2 separate regions of the Homo sapiens genome follow, and region 1 is linked to region 2. The links are contacts of gene promoters, found by promoter capture Hi-C in human tissues and cell types (Jung and others, 2019). All regions are on one chromosome and are shown on one strand. The core of a region is centred on a gene start or on the middle of the fragment in contact, and the rest is flanking DNA. Distances in the headings are between cores, read along the strand shown.

What was found. Contacts are between HindIII fragments. The study calls those that stand out against the background at their distance.
Region 1: a contact is called between a fragment that was not itself captured here and the fragment with the promoter of DDC in region 2, in 2 of the 25 tissues and cell types used here (liver and thymus).

Annotation. Positions count from the first base shown.
Region 1 is chr7:50,674,086-50,680,418 of GRCh38, forward strand. GRB10 (growth factor receptor bound protein 10) reads right to left here. Exons shown (of 19, transcript NM_001350814.2): 6 at 351-573. Among named protein-coding and RNA genes, the nearest start is that of GRB10, 110 kb to the right of the region's middle. The HindIII fragment of the contact is 3,425 bases long and covers 79-3,503 here.
Region 2 is chr7:50,564,155-50,571,034 of GRCh38, forward strand. DDC (dopa decarboxylase) reads right to left here and starts at 1,251. Exons shown (of 15, transcript NM_001082971.2): 1 at 1,131-1,251. RefSeq lists an enhancer at 6,114-6,639. The HindIII fragment of the contact is 6,956 bases long and covers 1-5,234 here.

The sequences.
Region 1 (6,333 bases), core at 541-3,040, 110 kb after region 2:
AGTGAGGACTTGGGGCATGCAATCAGCTCCATGGCTGTTCTTCCAATCTTTCCAGAGATTTTTCCTCTGGTGGTTTTCCTGCATATCCCTCTACCTAGCACAGTGCCTTGCACATAGCAGGCACTCAATAAAAGGTACTACTGGAATTGAACTGGCTACAAAGTTCAACCCAAGGGCGGCACACTGCACACACTCAGTGTATCCGTTATCCCATCAAAGCAATGTATCTGCCTCTTGACTTTGCAAGACCAACACTATTCCCCCCAACACCATTTAACTCACAGAGAGCAGTGTCCCTGCCGACAGCTCTCATCCTTGGAGAAGGCTCTGCCCATAAGGCCTGGACCTACCTGACAGCGAGGATGTGCACAGGCTGGGAGCGCTGCACCCTCTGCCTCGGGGACACCTGTGGCTGGATGGACCGAGGAGGGCCTGAAGCCCGAGGCTGGCTGCGGGCATGCTGGCCATTCTGCAGGAGGGGCACCGTGTCTGACTGCATGCTGCAGGCCGAGTACAGGCTCTCCAGGGATGCATTCATATCGTTCACCAGGGCTTCCAGGTCCACATCATCCTCTGCACAGAAAAAGGCAAGAGCAAAAAAGAAACTTTAACAATGGAGAGCAATCAAACCCAAATGTACATCTTGGTGATCAGGTTCCAAACCTCAATCCTATTTTTCAAATATTATGGAAGGGGTAGAGGGGAAACACCAAGACAAGTATGACTGTATGGAAGCATGCATATTACATGTATTCATCATGACTGACATTCCAGAGACAATTCAATCATTAGAGCTGGGCTGCATTTCTACCTGTCTCCAGGGAGAAGCCATTCAGAGCATCTGCTCAGCTCCCTTCAGCACCCCCTTCTCTCCTCCCCACCCCCTCCGGTAGGCCGCACACAGCCACAGCTGCATAGCACGACCCCACTGGCCTGGACTCAGCTGACTGAATCACAGGTGTCTCCCAGGATCAGGACTCTCCCTTCCCTGGGATTCCAGAAGTGAAACAAGAGACAGAAACAGAGCAGCACCCAACACTGACACTGGTTCCAGCCCAGAAAGGTTAAGTAGGGGCTGACACTGTGGCAGGGGTTTGTGTGTGGCTGCTACTACAACACATGCCTGAGGGCTTCGGGTGCCCACCCATCCTCTCGATTGGCCAGAGTGCAGAAGGAAGCCCATCTTCACAGAGGAAGGCATGGGGCAGATGCAGAGAGAGAAGCCACAATGGCACAGAGAGTAAGTGAGAGAGAGAGCGGCGGAAAACGCACTGTAGAAAGGGAGGAATGAGCACGCAGAGACAGTGATGGTTGGTTTTATGTGCCAACTTGGCTGGGCCATGGTGCCAGGTTTTAGCTAAACACTAGACTAGATGCTGTGAAAGTATTTTTTAGATGTAATTAACATTTAAACCACAGACTTTGAGTAAAGCAGATTGTTCTCTCTCATGTGAGAGTGCCTCAGCCCATCACCTGAAGACCTGAATAGAAGAAAAAGACCGGCCTCCAAGGGGAAAGATGGAATTCTGCCTCCAGACCTGAGCTGCAACCCTTCCCTGGATGTCCAGCCTGCCAGCCTGCCCTGCAGATTTTGGACTTGCTAGCCTCCACAGTGTCATGAGCCAATTCCTAAAACACATGTGTCTCTCTCTGTATACAGCCTATTTAATGGGTCTGTTTCTCCAGAGAAACAGAGACCTAGGGCTACAACCCAGCACATGGAGATGGGGAGGGGTTGGGGTGGGACGGGGAAAGGGAGCCAGGAGCTAGGGCTGTGCAGCTTCCGGTGCTTCCTAAGGCCTGGCTGCACTCCTGCTCAGGGAAGATTGGTAAAACATTCTTGCATCCATACAATAATTTTGTTGTTGTTGTGCTTAAGCTAATTTGAGTGAGTTTTGTACGTGTAACCCAATACATTCTAATAATATTGACTCCTTTCTTCTGCATTTTTAGATTTTTCGCTTTTTGACATCATGGCAAATAATGATGGAAGCTCACATAATTCGTCCTCTCTTCTGCTCCCAGAATAGCTGCAAGTTACACCCACTTAACACACAGGGTCACAGACAGCAAGACCCTCTTCCTACCAAAGGCTACATTGGTAGGAAGGAAAGCAGAGACCGGCACTTGCAAACTTGCTCACCCTGCCCTGCTCCTAGTAGCTCTGGGCCCAGGGCCCAGGACGTGGGCTTCCTATTTCTTAAGAGTCCTCAACTCTAACATGAGCTTAGCAATAGTGTCCACCCCACCGGGGGGGGGGGGGGGTTGTAAGGACTAGGTTAGTTATTATCTGCTTTATAACACAGCTTGGCACACAGTAAACAGGAAGATGTTATTTATTAGCCCTATTTCATCTATTTCTTACAAAATAACAAAAAGTGATCGTTATTAACCTGGCTTAACAGCTGAGGAAATAGGCCTGGAAGAATTAAATCACCTGCCCAAGGTCACATAAGCGGTATTGAAAATAAGCTTTGCATCCCTCATTCTCTCCTACCAGGTGTGTGCTCCTCACAGAAGCTTCAGAGGGGCACTCTGCCCTCTGGTTAGGAAGGCCTTTGTTTTAAAGGGCTCCCCTCATCTCTCAAGGCTAAAGGGCATAACAAGACAAGACATAAGGAAACAAAACAACAACAATGAGGGAGGGAAGTCCTGGGCAACCACGGTAGTGCAGAGGGGGTATGGAGTGGGCAGGGTCACCCCCGGGGGTAGTGCTTGGGCTTCTGGAGTGGGTGGGACAGTAGGAGCAGGGTTTAGCCAGATCACGCTCAAGATCCTGGTGAAGACAGACAGATAGAAGGGAGGGGTGAGGACAGAAGGGAGGCTGCTGAAATGGCAGCGATGAGATCACTGAGGCCTGGCCAGCACAGCCCTTGCTGGAAGAACAGAGGCCACATTCAAACCAGGGCCAGGGGAGAGGGCAGGGGCTGGGGAGCATCAGGCTGGAAGAGGAAGGTTGCCTTAGAAAAACAGGGGTCAGATGGATCCGAAGATGCGGACTGGGTGAAATCAGCAGCTGAGACGCAGCAAGCAGGGCCCTGTGTGCCCAGGATCTGTGTGGAAGGAGGGAAGAAGAGAGATGTTGCCATGGTTCAGGTTGTGAGTGGTCAAATATTAATCCTGGCCAGATATTAAAAGGACAAAGTGCTGAATCAATAATTAATAATTACTGCATAATCAATAATTAATCACAAGGAAGAACACTCAGAGTCAGCAGGCGAACTCTTGCTCATAGCTGGGGTGAGGTGGGGTGGGGAAGAGTTGGTTGGCAAAAAATCAGGACCCCTGGAGGGGCAGGCATGTACCTGCCTGAGCTACCCGAGGCCCAGAAGGCTTGTGGCCTCAGGGAGAGGAGAGCCTCACTGCCAACTGCTGGAGCGAAAATTGCAGTCCAGAGAACTCTGCCTGCCAAAGACAAGACCTCAGTTCTGTATTTATTGAGACTGCTGCATCCATCTTGAGGAAAAGTTATAGTGGAGACCACGAATCTGGGGCTTCAGGAAAGTTCTAGAACGTATGCATCACGCACCCACTCATCTCCTACACTCCTATTTAGCTGACAGGGAATAGCTGCTTAATTGAAGCTCTGCAAAACAATTAGCACGAGCGCCACTCTTAACTTACCGTATTAACAGCTCAATATTTCTATCTCAGTGGGCCATCTAAAAGTCAATACTGGCCAAAACACAAAGTTCACTGTTAAGTATAGTCAGTCTTGGGTGATGCAGGTTGGTCTCAATGCCACACACGTGCACACGTGCGAACATGTCCACACACATGCACACACTTGCACACACATACACGTGTGCTGTGGGGCCACTCTGCCAATTCAATGCCAGGCTTTTAATCCTGCTTTGGAAATAAAAACAGTGGTACAGTTCCTACTCTGAGACTGTTCTCTTCTAGGAAAATAACATGTTTTCATTCCCTCTGGGGAATTTTCATGTGCAGTTATTTCTCTCTATGCATTCCTAACAGCCCCTTGGCTGTGCTCCCCAGGCAAGCAGCCCCCGGGGTCTCCTGTCCTTTTCCTGCTAAGCCTTCTGTCAGTCAACCAGATCATTCCTGGGTCATAGCTCTGCAATTAGGTCAAATGCAAAGTAATTCTGTCATTATTCAAAGTAAATATAAGGTAACAGATGCCAAAATATAAACACAACACATATCCTCAAAATGCTTTTACTCTCCTCTGAGGTGGATTATTTGTACAACTATTTTCTACTTTAATACATTCAATCATGAATATTTTCAACAAAGCCAGGTCAATCTGGTAACTCAATAGGTTATAATCTTCATAAACTGAATCCAACCACTCTATCTGGATGTTTCAAACCTTCATACTTTCCAGAGCCATTACAGCAAAAATAAAACTTTTTAGAAATTTTAAATGCCATACTTTAGAAACAACTGTAAAATGTCCTGTGGGGTTCATTAGCATTTTATCTGTTTAGATAATAAAATCAATTATGGTTCTCTGACTTGTAAGCTTCACTAAATTCTAACGAAGAGCGACAGTTAAATCTTCCAAACAGGGGTTTTAAAGGTTTGATTCAAAAGAAGACAATTTTTCATATTCTACACCATTTTTTTTTTAATTACTACATTAAGATACGACTGAAATCACACTGAGTTCTTACAAGCATCCCTATGGCGTTTATTCTGTCAGCTGGTCTACCTCAGTAAGGACTCTGTGTGCCACCTCTGTGGGTGTGGTCAACTGCAAAATTCTTGTCTGGTCCCATGAATCCAAGTGGATCAATAATCACCCATTTGTGAAAGGCCTTCTGCCACGTAACAGAAGTGGGAGAAACAAGTAAACAAATGCTTCTCGCAGTGAATATTCAGATTGTCTATTTAATGTTAACTTGACGCCAAAATATTTTCCATGGGGCTGCCCCACTGGGAGGAATAGTGAAAGGTGAAGAAAAAAATAATTTTATATATAAAATTTCACTTCAGACGGATTTATAAGAATGTATTTTCTGCACAAATATAGGTCAAACAACATGGCTGTCAATCATGTTATTAATAGTTATTTTCCTTCTTTAAATAACCCAGTCCAAAACTGGGTATTAACTTTGCCCCAAATATTTGAGTAGCTTGTCTGATCTCAAATTCACATCTCATCTAGTTTCACTGTCATTAGCAAACTGAGGCTGGCTTAGTTTTAAAATAGATATAAACTCAGCGAAACACATTTGCATCGGGCTTATAAATCATCACGAGTAAATGTCTTCCATGCAGCAGGCTAGGTGTGCTGACTAGGAAAAGGCAAAGAGGACAGAGAAACTCCGGGGACAGAGGATTTAACTTCTAGCACCATCTCACCACCTTCACCAATACATTTCTTAGTTTACAGCACCATCTAGTGTCTTCTTTACATTGTTTAGGGATTAAAGATGACACTGGATTCACTTTACTAAATGATTTGGCAACATAAGGACATGTTATTTGCACCATGTGTTTAGGACGTGTCCATTACGATCCCTTCTTCACAGACCTACACAAGCTTCCATCAGTGTGCGATGCCTTCAGAGCTTTCTCCACTACCCCCTTCCCCCATTTTCATATGGAAGATATACCCTGTTAAGTCATAAACAGCTGGGGTGGGGGTATATCATTAAGTCAAAGCAGATTCAGTCCCTAAGAAACAGATAAATGGCACTTTACATGAAAAGTCTCTAACACATGTGCAAAAGCCAAAGTCCTTACACATTTCTATCTAGAAAAGAAGTGAAGGTCAGGCTGCAAAAGTGTTTTCCACTAGACCATGTTCACTTGGCAAGCAATTTCTGTTAACTTCTAACCAATTAAAACTTTGTGCAAATATAACTTAACCTTCTACTGAAACAGCTTTCTGAACAACAATTTATCTTCTATTCTCATGTATTCTAGTCACATGCACTTAATTTCCCATATATAGAGTTTGGACATAAGTAAGTAGAATAAGAAAACCAGGTATTATATGGTTAGAGTATTCTTCTCTATCATATTTATGGTATTTAAAGATATTCAGCAAACACAAAAGCAAACCACCTAACCACAACTCCAAATAAAAATACAAATGGAATCAATGCTTTATTTCACGGGTTCCTACACACAGGCAGGATTTGAGGCAGAAAATAAAATCCCTAGAATTAGTCTGTCCAGCAAATGCATATAAATATCCTTGTACCTAGAAAGAGCTACACAGTCATAACTCTTGGCTTTCAGTGTTTATAAGAGAAACTTCCTTCTCCCAACCTTTGTTGAAAATGGCATCCTCTCCTCTCTACCCAGCTCACAAAAGACAAGGGGAACCACCATTTTCAGTCTCTAGTAATTGAGAAAACA
Region 2 (6,880 bases), core at 1-2,500:
TCCCTGGTTTCAAAAATGTCACATATCCACTTTGCCAGGACTTCCAGGGTAGAGTTCTATAGGGTCATCTTCATCCTACACCGCATCCAGATAAGCACAGGGAGCAAGGCTGAATGCTGGAGGGACTTACCCCAGCCATGGGAGCAGCGCTTGTCGCCCTGGACCTACACACTGGATTGCTTGGCTGCCCGACAGCACCAAGTGCAAACGGGCTACATTCACATTTCGTCTCTGCCAGCTGCAAGATCTTATGCCATCCTCCTCCCCTCCTCTGGCTGTTTGCTCACTTGTGAAATGGGGATGTGACTGGAGGTGAAGAAGGCAAACCTTCTAGACAGAGCCCAATGTAAACTGACCACTCAGAAGTAATGGTTTTAACTCACGCATGATGGAGAGCAATGATTTCCATCGATTAAGCTTTGATTCTTATATACTTCCGACAACAGACTTAAAACCAGGAGAACTTCGACTCCTTGAAGTCGATAACCGAACAATTCTCCCAATAGAAATTCCTATCCGCATATGTTTTCAGATGGGAATTGTACTCAGCATGGCAAGTTGGTGGGAAAGATCTTCTAATTCTCCTCAAATCACACTGCATAGGTAGACACCAAATTGACCTCTAAGTAAACTATAACATACACCAAAAGGAGAGAGCCCTGACGGAGCCTCAGATGTTATAAAGGGAAGGGCAGAGTTCACATTTACTAATCACCTCCATAAAATCATGGGATTTAATCCTCACAAGGTAGATACTAAGAAAATCCTCATTTACAGAAGAAACAGAGGCTGGGGGAATAAAATACCCAACACCATCCCTGGTGGTGCATGGAAAAAATAGAATCACATCTGGCCCGCATTTGCTACTGAGCCAGTCATGAAATCATTCCCAGCACCTATCAAACATGTGTCACTGGAGTGACTGTGTGTGCATGGAGAGCCACCAAGTGCACAGCCCCCACTGAACAAAAACCCCTGCCAGCCTGCAGCAGAAGAGAAAGCACCACACAAGCTCCCTCAAGTGAGTTAACCTTTAAGCAAATGTTCAGTAACATGGGGCCAGAGAGTCAAGGTACATGTTGCTGTTTTCCACTACTACAATCTGAGTAGGTATAAAATCAGAGACTTACATGCTGGAAATTCGAATTCCTTACAGGGCTACTCTCCTTGATGGGATTCTCCAACTTTGGGGACTGAAGAGCATGTGGAGAAGCTGCTGAGGCACTCGGCACTGAGACAGTCACTCTTCTTGAAACTCCAAGCCACACGTTTCCCTCTTCTTGCATTTCCAGCCACATGTGCCAGTTAAACATTAATTCCTGATGGTGACAAAGGTCAAGGAAATCTTGAGAAATAGCTCGCCTCTGGGAATCCTGAGAGCACATTCTGAAGAGACTGTTTCATTCCAAATCCTGGAAGCTTGGATCTTTCTTATGTAATTCTACATACATCCCATCTTTTACTAAGCAGCCCTGATTTCAAGTTTGGAGCCCATTAAGTCATCTGATATGTTCCAGCCCTGCACCAGGTGATGCCTGCATTGCACACAGCCTCCTGCCCCTGAAGGCAGCCCCAAAGTAAGCCTGCACTTCCCGGTGCAGCACTCAGCAATATGGGTAAGATTTCCAGGTTCAGATATCAGCAGAACCCAGGAACTCACCTTCCTTCCCCAAACCCATCAAAATCATAGTTGAGATGCATGAAACAATACTCTGAGTGGAATTTGGACAAATTTATAAAAAAACCCCAAAGTCGATAGAATTTTATGAGAGCACAAAGCAGGGCTGAGAAAGCCACATTGAGAAGTTGAGCAGGCACAGCCTGCAGGGATCTTAGGAGCTGGTCTTTCTGGCAGACCCCCAGCAGCTCCAAGCGTGGGGCTCAGTGGGTGTGAAGAGCAGAGTGAGAGTGAGGCTGGCTGCGGGCAGCTCATTAAAGGACTGGAAACAAGGCAGAGAGGGCTGTCACTAGAGCCATTTGTCACAGGCTAGATGCAGGGAAGAGCTCTCCTTGCTCTATCCTAGGGGACTGGAGCAGGCTGGGGCGGGGCACCTAGGGTTCCTATTGTTAGGACTGGAACTGGAGAGAGAAGCAGAGTGACATTGAGGAGTCTCAAAACCTCCACAGGAGCCATTGGAGGAAAGAGGGAAAAGAGAAAGAATGGCAAGTGAGCCCTCCAATGACGCACACCCAAATGCTCCCGCCTGGGGTCTCACAGGAGCTGAGAACCGAAGAAGTGATTGTCCTTGGTAAGGGGAAGAGTGAGGGAAGGGCTCCAAAGAGGGAACAGCCTCTGCAAAGTTACTGAGGATCAAGCTCGGCATCTCCCAGGCCCTGACAGAAGGCCAACTCCTAAGGACCATTCAAAGTAGGGGAGGGGGAGTCTTGCAAGCCACGTTACGTAATTTGTATCCCCCCAACTGTAATAGAAGGCATTGAAGTGTTTCTAGAAAGCAGTAACCTTAGCTTACTTATGGTTTAAGATCACTCTGGCTCTGGGGTAGAAAATGGATCAGAGGGAGATAAGGGTGAAAGGGTTAGACCCTTTAAGTTGGACCACCAATTCCCACCACATTCCTTGGATTTCTGCACTTTCCTGCAAACCAGGAGTGAATTCAAGTGAATCCATTCTAGGAGATGGGCTGGGGGAGGGAGGGGGGGCTTGAGATGAAGAAGCGTGCTAATATTCCCCATAAGTGCGTGTGTGTGTGTGCATGTTAGGAGGTTGCTGGACAAGGGGAGGAGTCAAGGGGATGGAACGACTACCCAGTGATGAAGCCAGTGGGCAGGGGATGACGGTCATAGACTGAGAGGAAGAAGACTGGGGTGGACCAGTATTGGGTGTGGGGAGGTGAAGGACACCAAGGATTCAGTTTGGGAATTAAATTTCAGATATCCACAAATCGTGTGATTTGAGATGTCCAGTACAGCTCAGAAAAAGAGGCCCAGACAGGAAATAAAGTTATGGGTTGAAAGTGTTTAGATGATATTTGAAGCAATAGGACTGGAAAAAAAACATCCATAGAGAAGAGAGACCTCAGTTTTGAAATCCTCAAAAAAGTGAACTAGTAGTGTCCAACTACTGAGCAACAGTTATCTCTCAATAGAGAAATCTACATAGGAATCAGCATCCGTTCCCAGAAGGGACTCTTTTTACATTTCCTTTCTTCTTGCAGGTGTGGGATTTATGGGGAATAGGGGTGAGGCTTCGAGGACCAAAGAAAGAAATCTAGGGCAGGATTTCCCAACCATGGCACTTTATCAGTCAGGTTTCTCCAGAAAACTGGAAATAATAGGATATGGATATAGGAATATAAGAAGAGATTTATTGTAGAAATTGGCTCATGTGATTATGGAGGCTGGGAAGTCCCACAGTCTTCCATCTACAGGCCGGAGAACTAGATAAGCTGGTGGTGTAATTCATCCTGAGTTTGAAGGCCCAAGAGCAGGAGAAGATGGATATCCCAGCTCAAGAAGAGAAAGAATTTGCCCTTCATCCACCTTTTTGTTCTATTCTGGCACTCAACAAACTGGATGTTACCAGCCCACACTGGTGAGGATGGATCTTGTTTACTTTCTGGAGATTCCAATGCCAATCTCTTCCAGAAACACCCTCATGAACACAACCAGAAATCCTGCTTTACTGGCCCTCTGGGCATCTCTTAGCCCACTTCAGTCGACACATAACATTAACCATCCCAGCACTATTACATTAAGGGTGTATAATTCTCTGTGATGGGAGCTGTCCTGTGCATTATAGAATGTTTAGCAGCATCCGGCTTTTACTCATTAGGTGCCAGTAGTCCCCAGTTGTGACAACCAAGAATGTCTCCAGGCATTGCATGTTTCCTGGTGGCAAAATTGCCCCTGGTTGAGAAAGGCTGATCTCGTGTGACCTTGTAATGCCCCAGGGCAGGGGAAGGTAGCATGGGTTGCAGCCAAGGCTGTTCCTGGAAGAGGGTGAGTCTGCTCTTCCACAGGAGCAGCAACGGCCATCTCTCATGATGCCAGAGTGGCCTGCAGTCAGTCGCAACAGTGTGCATGTTGCAGGAGGGAGACTGCAGGTGCAGACGTGACTGTGAAAGAGATTCACAGTGCACCTGAGTGTGGCTCCTGGGAGCAGAAGAGACGGGGCTTCCTGCTGAGACCACTGTGTGCCAGAGCAAAGTGGGCACTGGGGGCTTTGCTGAGGCCATGGGTGAAGAGAGAGGAGCTCTACTGCTATGCCCACACTCTGGCCAAGCCCACAGACAGGAGTGTCAGGGGAACTGAGTTTTCCTGGAAAAGCCAATTTGTTTAGGAGCTGGTGAGAATATCAATTCTGTTTTCTTTTCTTCCAGCGTAGAAGTTTTTTATTTTAATGAAGTCCAATTCATCAGTCCTTTTCCTCCATAGATTGTATTTAATGGAGGAAACTGGTGATTTATCTAAAAGGTCATCATCAAACTAAACTAGATTTTCTCTTGTGTCATCCTCTAGGAGTTTTATAGTTTTGCATGTTACCTTTAAGTCTATGAACCATTTTGAGTAAAGGTCTAGATCTAGATTCTTTTTTTTTTTTTGCATGTGGACGTCCATTTATTCCACAACCATTTGTCAAAGAGCCTATCCTTTCTTCATTGTATTGCCTTCACTCCTTTGTCAAAGACCATTTCACCATATTTGTGTGGGTCTATTTCTGAGCTCTCTATTCTGTTCCATTCATCTGTCTATTCTTTTACCAATAGCACTTTCTTAACTACTGTAGCTTTGTAGTAAGTCTTTTATTCATTTACTTATTAATTTACTTACTTATTTGAGACACAGTCTCGCTCTGTTGCCCAGGCTGGAGTGCAGTGGCGCTATCTCGGTGCACTGCAACCTCCACTTCCTAGGTTCAAGCAATTTTTGTGCCTCAGCCTCCCGAGTAGCTGAGATTACAGGCATGTACCACCACGCCTGGCTAATTTTTGTATTTTTAGTAGAGATGGGGTTTCACCATGTTGCCAGGCTGGTCTTGAACTCCTTACCTCAAATGATCCACCTACCTCGGCCTCCCGAAGTGCTGGGATTACAGGCGTGAGCCACTGCGCCTGGCTGTAGTAAGTCTTTAAGTTGGGCAGTGTCAGTCCTCCAAGTTTGTTTTTCTCTCAAAAGTCTCAAATCATTGGCCTCAGACTATTGGTGGGTCATGGAATGGGTTTTGCAGGTCTCATGACCAGCATTTTAAAAAATGCAATAGAACAGAATAAAATATAAAACAGGAGACATTGCACCTAATGATGAAAATATTGCTTTCTGAACCTTTCAATGATGTACAGGAATATGTGTACTGGGTCATAATATAGAATGCATTTCTTACTGTAGGTTGTGATCAGACTGCAAAGGCCTCTATCAAGAGATGATCTCATTCTATAAAAATAAAGTGGGTCGAGATTTGTGAAATCTGAAAGTGAGGATTAATCAATGACTACAAAAAGCTAGACAAGGCAACTCATGGACAACTAGCTATGCCTATGTTTTCTATGTAATTTTAAAAATTACATTGAAATGTTCCATAGTCATGTATAGTTTTTCTTCTGTGAATTTCCTGCTTCCGTTTCTCATATGCCTTCTAGCCAGGTAGTGAAAAAGACTCAGCTTTTCAGGGGGACAGCCTAGTGCAATTTGGAATTAGGTTTCTCTGTTTAATTGACTTGTCTTTAGTGTGCCAGACCAGTCAAAGAATCCTGCATCAAAATCGAGAGAATGAACAAGCCTTCATCACCATAGCACATTTATATAAAAAGAAAGGGAAAGATGTTGTGGGAAGTCAGGGACCCCGAACGGAGGGACCTGCTGAAGCCGTGACAGAAGAACATAAATTGGGAAGATTTCATGGACATTTATCACCTCCCCAATCACTACTCTTATAATTTCCTATGCCTATCTTCACTTTAATCTCTTAACCCTGTCATCTTTGTAAGCTGAGGATATATGTTGCCTCCGGACCCTGTGATGATTGCATTAACTGCACACACTGATCGTAAAGCATGTGTGTTTGAACAATATGAAATCTGGGCACCTTGAAAAAAGAACAGGATAACAGCAATGTTCGGGAACAAGGGAGATAACCATTAGGTCTGACTGCCTGGGAGCCAGGCAGGACGGAGCCATATTTCTCTTATTACCGAAAATGGGTAAGAGAAATATCACTGAATTCTTTCCCTGGTAAGGAATATTGATAATTAACAGCCCTGGGAAAAGAATGCATTCCCAGGGGGGCCTCTAAAATGGCTGCTCTGGGGGGGTTGTCTGCTTTATGCAGTTGCAGATAAGGGATGAAACATGCCCTGGCCTCCTGCAGTGCCCCTAGGCTTGCTAGGATTAGGAAATTCCAGCCTGGCGAATTCTAGTCAGACCAGTTCTCTGCTCTTGAACCCTGTTAAGATGTTTATCAATGACAATGCATGCACAGTGGGACATGGAACTTCACTAGTAATTCTAGTTTCTCCCTGACCTTGTGATCTCGCCTTGACCTTCTGCCTTGTGATCTTTTATTGCCCTATGAAGCATGTGATTTTTGTGACCCACACCCTATTCGTACACTCCCTCTCCTTTGAAAATTGCTAATAAAAACTTGCTGGTTTTACGGCTCAGGGGGCATCATGGAACCTGCCGACATGTGATGTCGCTTCCGGACACCCAGCTTTAAAATGTCTCTCTTTTTTTTTTATTATACTTTAAGTTTTAGGGTACCCATGCACAACGTGCAGGTTAGTTACATATGTATACATGTGCCATGTTGGTTTGCTGCACCCAGTAACTCGTCATTTAACATTAGGTGTATCTCCAAATGCTATCCCTCCCCACTCTCCCCACCCCACAACAGGCCCCGGTGTGTGATGTTCACCTTCCTGTG